2 separate regions of the Homo sapiens genome follow, and region 2 is linked to region 1. The links are contacts of gene promoters, found by promoter capture Hi-C in blood cells and fetal thymus (Javierre and others, 2016). All regions are on one chromosome and are shown on one strand. The core of a region is centred on a gene start or on the middle of the fragment in contact, and the rest is flanking DNA. Distances in the headings are between cores, read along the strand shown.

Region 1 (3,359 bases), core at 506-3,005:
GCACACTGTCATGATCCTGAAGGAAAAAGGGTATCTGGTTTCAGGCAGACACCTGGCCAACTGGTTGGCATGGCTACTTGGGACAGAGTAACTGTCAGTCAAGAACCATAGGCAGGCCGGGCACGGTGGCTCATGCCTGTAATCCTAGCACTTTGGGAGGCCTGGGCTGGTGGATCACTTGAGGTCAGGAGTTCCAGACCAGCCTGGCCAACATGGTGAAACCCTGTCTCTACTAACAATACAAAAATTAGCCAAGCATAGTGGCAGGCGCCTGTAATCCCAGCTACTTGGAAGGCTGAGGCAAGAGAATCACTTGAACCCTGGAGGTAGAGGTTGCAGTGAGCCGAGAATTGTGCCACTGCACTCCAGCCTGGGCGACTGGGCCAGACGCCATGTCAAAAAAAAAAAGAAAAAGAAAAAAAGAAAAATAAAATAACTATAGGCAGACTATATCTTAGGAAAAGTTGGCTGGAGAAAGAAGCACATATAGAGGATGAATTGGGATTTGTTGCTGTGAAGCGTAAAAGTGCCACTCACAGCAATGCTGTTAAGATCGTTAGCAACAGTTCTCTCTCTCTCTCTCTCAAGTGTTACATTGGAAAATAACTTCTGCAAGAAGGATTGGGACATAGTCCTAAACATATTTCAGTCAACTCGTAAAATCGGAGGAACTTCATAATACCGCTTTTCTCCCAGAACTCCAAAATACCAAGGAATTTTGCAGAAAAACTAAGTATACCTTGGTGGATGTTGAAACCAACATAGCAGTGGAATGTTGGCAGAGTAAAATTCTACAATTTTCTGCTATGACAGAGAACCTAGAGACCAGTCTACAACTCTCACTGTACAGATGGGAAAACTGAGACTAGTCTAAGTCCACATAGTTAGTGGCAAAATTTAGAGTAAAACTCAGGTCTCTAGGCTGGTATTTATTTATTTATTTATGTATGTATTTATTTAATTTACTTTTGAGACAGAGTCTCGATCTGTCACCCAGGGTGGAGTGCACTGGTGCGATCTTGGCTTGTTGCAGCCTCCGCCTCCCGGATTCAAGCGATTCTTGTGCCTCAGCCTCCTGAGTAACTGGGATTACAGGCATGTGCAACCATGCTTAGCTAATTTTTGTATTTTTACTAGAGACCGGGTTTCACCATTTTGGCCAGGCTGGTCTGGAACTCCTGACCTCAAGTGATCCGCCCGCCTGGGCCTCCCAATGTGCTGGGATTACAGGCGTGAGCCACCACGCCTGGCCAGGCTGGTACTAATTTAAAAGGCAGGGCCCCTGGTTACCTGCCACAAAAGCAGATTTTTTCAACCCAACTGTAACTGTTTCGATATGAGATATTTCCTCTGTAGCCCTGCTTCAGTGTCCAGTGTTTTACTAGGTTAGGTCCTGATTCACGGCAATAAAAATATACTTAAAATCGCATTTTCAGTTCACTGGATGACTACAATCAAGCTGCCACCCGCCGAGGGGAGCAAAATAAAATTCCTCTTGCAGTGAAGACATACCGCTTCCGGTCTGGTACAGAAGCCGGTTAGCAACCAGGAAATTGGCGGAACCTAGAGGCTGAACTCTTGCCCCTGGAGGGTTTGCTTTGTGAAAAGAACACTTCCGGCCGGTGAGTTTTTAACCCCGCATGTCATTAGGTCGGCGCCCAATTCTGACGTTCCGATTGGCCATGCTGACGCTGGAAGGCGGGCTTGCGTATGGGGTCACGCTCTCCTATTGGCTGCTGGTGCGGTGGCGGTTCGGAGTGAGGGTAGCACGCTGAGCTGAAGGCTGTGCGGAGCGGCGCGGCACAGAGCCTGTTGTTGAGCTCAGTATGTCGTGGGAATCCGGGGCCGGGCCAGGTCTAGGTTCCCAGGGGATGGATCTCGTGTGGAGTGCGTGGTACGGAAAGTGCGTTAAAGGGAAAGGGTCGTTGCCACTCTCGGCCCACGGCATCGTGGTCGCCTGGCTCAGCAGGGCCGAGTGGGACCAGGTGACGGTTTATCTGTTCTGTGACGACCATAAGTTGCAGCGGTACGCGCTTAACCGCATCACGGTGTGGAGGAGCAGGTAAGGTGGCGGGTTCGGCCCTTTTGCCTGCGTGCTGGTGGCGCTGCACCTCTTCCTTTGTCGAGTTTCTATAAGGCCCTGTTCTCCAGTCTTCCCCTAAGTCGCCTAAAGTTGTCCCTCTCCCAAATGCCTGGGGGAACGCGGCAGCCATCTCTTGCGCTAATCCCGTTAGCGGAATGGAAAGTAAGGGGTTGTGCCTCAACAATTCTCTTGTTATATCTGTGAGGTTTACCCATTACCTCCAAAAAGTGACTTTCTCCCAACTTGGAGAGGATGCCGGAGGGACTAGTGAGGCCTGAGCCAGGGCTTAAGGAGTAGATTAGTACCCTAGGGTAGATTTCCGATTCCAATGGGGAGGAAGTCTTGCCTGCAAGACAGTGTTTGAGTGGGGCGCCTCAGTCCAGTTGGTAAGATTGAGTTGGGAGCCGACTTACAAGGGATAAGGGGCTCCTCTAGCTCAATGAGTTGATTTGGGGGTGAAAGAAAGGGGTGTGTCCACACAACTGTTGATGGACAGTCTACCAGTTAGGTGTCCTGTATACGGCCTAGTCAGCTCCTCATGCCCTGTATACTGTTGGATCCCACAGACATTACCGTGTCTCCTCCCACCTTCTTGTTTTGTGTCTGTTCATGCTCTCTTGAACCAGAATATGATGGGTGTAGCCTGCAACAACCTAGGTTCTGAGGTGGAGGGTGGACCAGTGTAAGGGCTCTTTATGATGGTGCTGGACTGTGACCCTTTAGGTCAGGCAACGAACTCCCTCTGGCAGTGGCTTCTACTGCTGACCTGATACGCTGTAAGCTCTTGGATGTAACTGGTGGCTTGGGCACTGATGAACTTAGACTGCTCTATGGCATGGCATTGGTCAGGTAAGACCTGCATGGGGTAGGGGTGGAGGTTGGCTTTGGGGACTGGAGGCAGGGGAGGCATGTGATAAGCAAAACTTGGCTTCAGGTGTTACCTGAAGCAAAACCCTGCGTGTACCTCACTGTGGATCAGCCTGTGATTATTGCTTGACTTATCAGCTTTTGGTACCCTCGTCAACGCATTCCTCTTTTTCTTCCTTTTTCCTGAAAGCCTTCTCTTCCATTTTTCTTTCTATCTTGGAATGTGGAGGAAGGGATTCAGACCAGGTGATCTCTGTGGGTCTCTTGGTGGTCTGATATTTTTTCTTACCTTTGAATTCCTCACCCAGAGGAACTTGTCTGAATGGCTCAGGGTCCTCGCCTGTGATTTAATGTGGACTTTCCAACCCTGTCCCTGTCTATTCCTAGCACTACCCTTTTCCCCTTCTCT
Region 2 (3,359 bases), core at 607-3,106, 3.0 Mb before region 1:
GAGGATTGCTTGAGCCCAGGAGGTTGAGGCTGCAGTGAGTCCACTGCCCTCCAGCCTGAGCAACAGAGCAACTCAAGAAAGAAAGAAAGAAAAAAAGAAAGAAAGAAAGAAAAGAAAAGAAAAAAAGCAAGAAAGAAAAGAAAAAAGAGAAAGAGAAAGAAATAAAAAAGAAAAGAAAAAGGAAAAGGAAAAAAAAGGAAGGAAAGATGAACCACACGGGAATCATTTTAAAGCTTCCTCTCTAGTAAGATTGGGAACAGAGAATCCTATGAGTGGGCATGACCAAGGGCAGCAGAGGCCACTGAGTTCCTAACACACTGCATGCAGTCCCTTAGGATGAGTAGATGACTCACTAATATCTGAACTACTTGGATGCAGATGTATGTATGTATGTATGTATGTGTGTATTTATTTATTTTTTTTTTTTGAGGCTCACTGCAGCCTCAAACTCAGGCCTTCAAGTGCTTCTCCTGTCTTGGCCTCCCAAAGTGCTGGGATTACAGGTGTGAGACACTGCTCCCAGCCTACACAAATTTAAAATATAGTTAATTCTTCAGTCCAGCCCTCCAAATCATTTCCTACCTCTGTCCATGTGTGGATTCTCAGAAAAGCACAAAGCTTTAATGTATGTGAAACAAGGTCTAAGAAAAAGCAAGCAATAAAAGCTCAGGGAAAGAGACAAGACCAACTCACGCCTACACTTCGATCCTACTGAGACCTACAATCCACTGATTTGCCACAGTTTTACTGTCTTTCATCCCCCTGATGTCCACTTTTTTCTCTTTATTCAGTTTAAACTCCACTGGCAATCACCACAATCGTTTCTTTGCAACATTCTCAACTCCCTTACCCGTCTTTTGCTTTTATTGCACTCATTTGGCAAGAATACAGACCTGGTTAAACCCAACACTCTGTATACTTCGTGTTTGCATCGTCAGCTAAATGTAATCAGAGAAAAACATACAACTTTGCTGACTGGTCTCACTTTAAGGGACCACAAAGCTTCATAGACCTTTAATGCTGCCTGGTGATCACACAAATTTCTTAAGTCCATTTACTTGCCCACTCACCTAAAGATTATATCATACCTTCTTTCTCCTCAAAACTTCAATGTCTCCTCTCCAATCCTGAATTTCAGATGAAAACTTTGCCCCCTACTTCACTGAGAAAATAAAAGCAATCCAAAGAGACCTTCTATTGACCACCACATGTACCCACTTGTTAGCATCCATAAGCACATTCTCTGCCATTTCTCCTCACAATCAACTGTATTATCTAAGGCACTTATATACTAGGTCTGATCCCATATCTTCCCACTCAAGGATAACATCTCAAGATTAAAAGGAAAAGTTCACATATATGAAATGACTGCATTTAAGCAGATTAAAAATATTAACTAACATCTGTATGAACTCTACTATTTTACAAACTAATTGCACGTACATTTTTGTACCTTATCTTCACAAAAATTCTATGAGGTAGGTTTTATTCTTATTCCCATTTTGCAAGAAAATGAGACTTCAAAGAGGTAAATTATTTGCTCCAAATTGCTTGGAAATTTGGTTAGTGGTAAAGATGGAATTGAAATTTAGGCCAAGAACATCAGAGAAATGCAAATCAAAACCACAATGAGATACCATCTCACACCAGTTAGAATGGCAATCATTAAAAAGTCAGGAAACAACAGGTGCTGGAGAGGATGTGGAGAAATAGAAACACTTTTACACTGTTGGTGGGACTGTAAACTAGTTCAACCATTGTGGAAGTCAGTGTGGCGATTCCTCAGGGATCTAGAACTAGAAATACCATTTCACCCAGCCATCCCATTACTGGGTATATACCCAAAGGACTATAAATCATGCTGCTATAAAGACACATGCACACGTATGTTTATTGTGGCACTATTCACAATAGCAAAGACTTGGAACCAACCTAAATGTCCAACAATGATAGAGTGGATTAAGAAAATGTGGCACATATACACCATGGAATACTATGCAGCCATAAAAAAGGATGAGTTCATGTCCTTTGTAGGGACATGGATGAAACTGGAAATCATCATTCTCAGTAAACTATCGCAAGGACAAAAAACCAAACACCGCATGTTCTCACTTATACATGGGAATTGAACAATGAGAACACATGGACACAGGAAGGGGAACATCACACTCTGGGGACTGTTGCAGGGTGGGGGGAGGGGGGAGGGATAGCATTAGGAGATATACCTAATGCTAAATGACGAGTTAATGGGTGCAGCACACCAACATGGCACATGTATACATATGTAACTAACCTGCACATTGTGCACATGTACCCTAAAACTTAAAGTATAATAATAATAATAATAATAATAATAATAAAGAAATTTAGGCCAAGAATAATAATGGAAAATTGGTTTTTATTTTTAATTTACATGAAAGTGCTATGTACAAATCTATGCAAATAAGTTTGAAAGCATCAAGGAGATAGACTGTTTCTTAGAAAAATTTAAGTGTTCAAACTGACCCAAGAGAATTTAGGAAACCTCATCAGAACAATGACTATGTAAAAATATCTTTAAAACTCTCAGAGAATCAGGCTGGCGCCATGACTCACTCCTGTAATTCCAGCACTTTGGGAGGCCGAGGCGGGCGGATCACTTGGGTCAGGAGTTCGAGACCAGCCTGGCCAAAATAGCAAAACCCTGTCTCTACTAAAAATACAAAGCTTAGCTGGGTGGGGTGGGGCATCCCGTAATCCCAGCTACTCCACAGGCTGAGGCATGAGAATTGCTTGAACCCAGGAAGCGAGGTTGCAGTGAGCTGAGATCGTGCCAGTGCACTCCAGCTTGGGCTTCAGAGTGAGACTCCATCTCAAAAACAAACAACTGTCAGAGAATCAGTCCTCTAAATCAAAAGTTGCCAAATATTTTCTGTAAAAGGCTAGATAGTAAATGTTTTAGGTTATGTAGACCATCAATTGTCTCTGTTGCATATTATTCTTTTATGTCTTTTTGTTTTGGGTTTTTACAGATCTTAAAAATGCAGAAACCGGTCTGACACGGTTGTTCCTGCCTGTAATCCCAGTACTTTGGGAGGTCGAGGCAGGAGGATCACTTGAGCCCAGAAGTTCGAGACCAGCCCGGGTAACATGGAGAAACCCCCATCTCTACAAAAAATTGAAAAATTAGCCAGGCATGGTTTCACACACCTGTAATCCCAGCTACTCTGGAGGCTGAAGTGGGTGGATCACTTGAGCCCAGGAGTTCAAGGTTACAGTGAGCTATGATGGCGCCACTGCACCCTAGCCTGCGCAGCAGAATGAGACCCTGTCTCAAAAAAAAATAAAAATAAAAATAAAAATAAAATAAAAAAGTATGC

What was found. The method cuts DNA at HindIII sites, captures the fragments that hold promoters and counts their contacts. A CHiCAGO score of 5 or more calls a contact.
Region 2: a contact is called between a fragment that was not itself captured here and the fragment with the promoter of LAS1L in region 1, in 1 of 17 cell types (neutrophils). The highest score is 6.6, in neutrophils.

What each region holds. Positions count from the first base shown.
Region 1 is chrX:65,533,183-65,536,541 of GRCh38, reverse strand. LAS1L (LAS1 like ribosome biogenesis factor) reads left to right here and starts at 1,755. Exons shown (of 14, transcript NM_031206.7): 1 at 1,755-2,062; 2 at 2,807-2,932. The coding sequence starts at 1,827. RefSeq lists an enhancer at 1,481-1,660. The HindIII fragment of the contact is 19,270 bases long and covers 1-3,359 here.
Region 2 is chrX:68,485,033-68,488,391 of GRCh38, reverse strand. No RefSeq gene overlaps it. Among named protein-coding and RNA genes, the nearest start is that of YIPF6, 12 kb to the left of the region's middle. The HindIII fragment of the contact is 1,704 bases long and covers 1,005-2,708 here.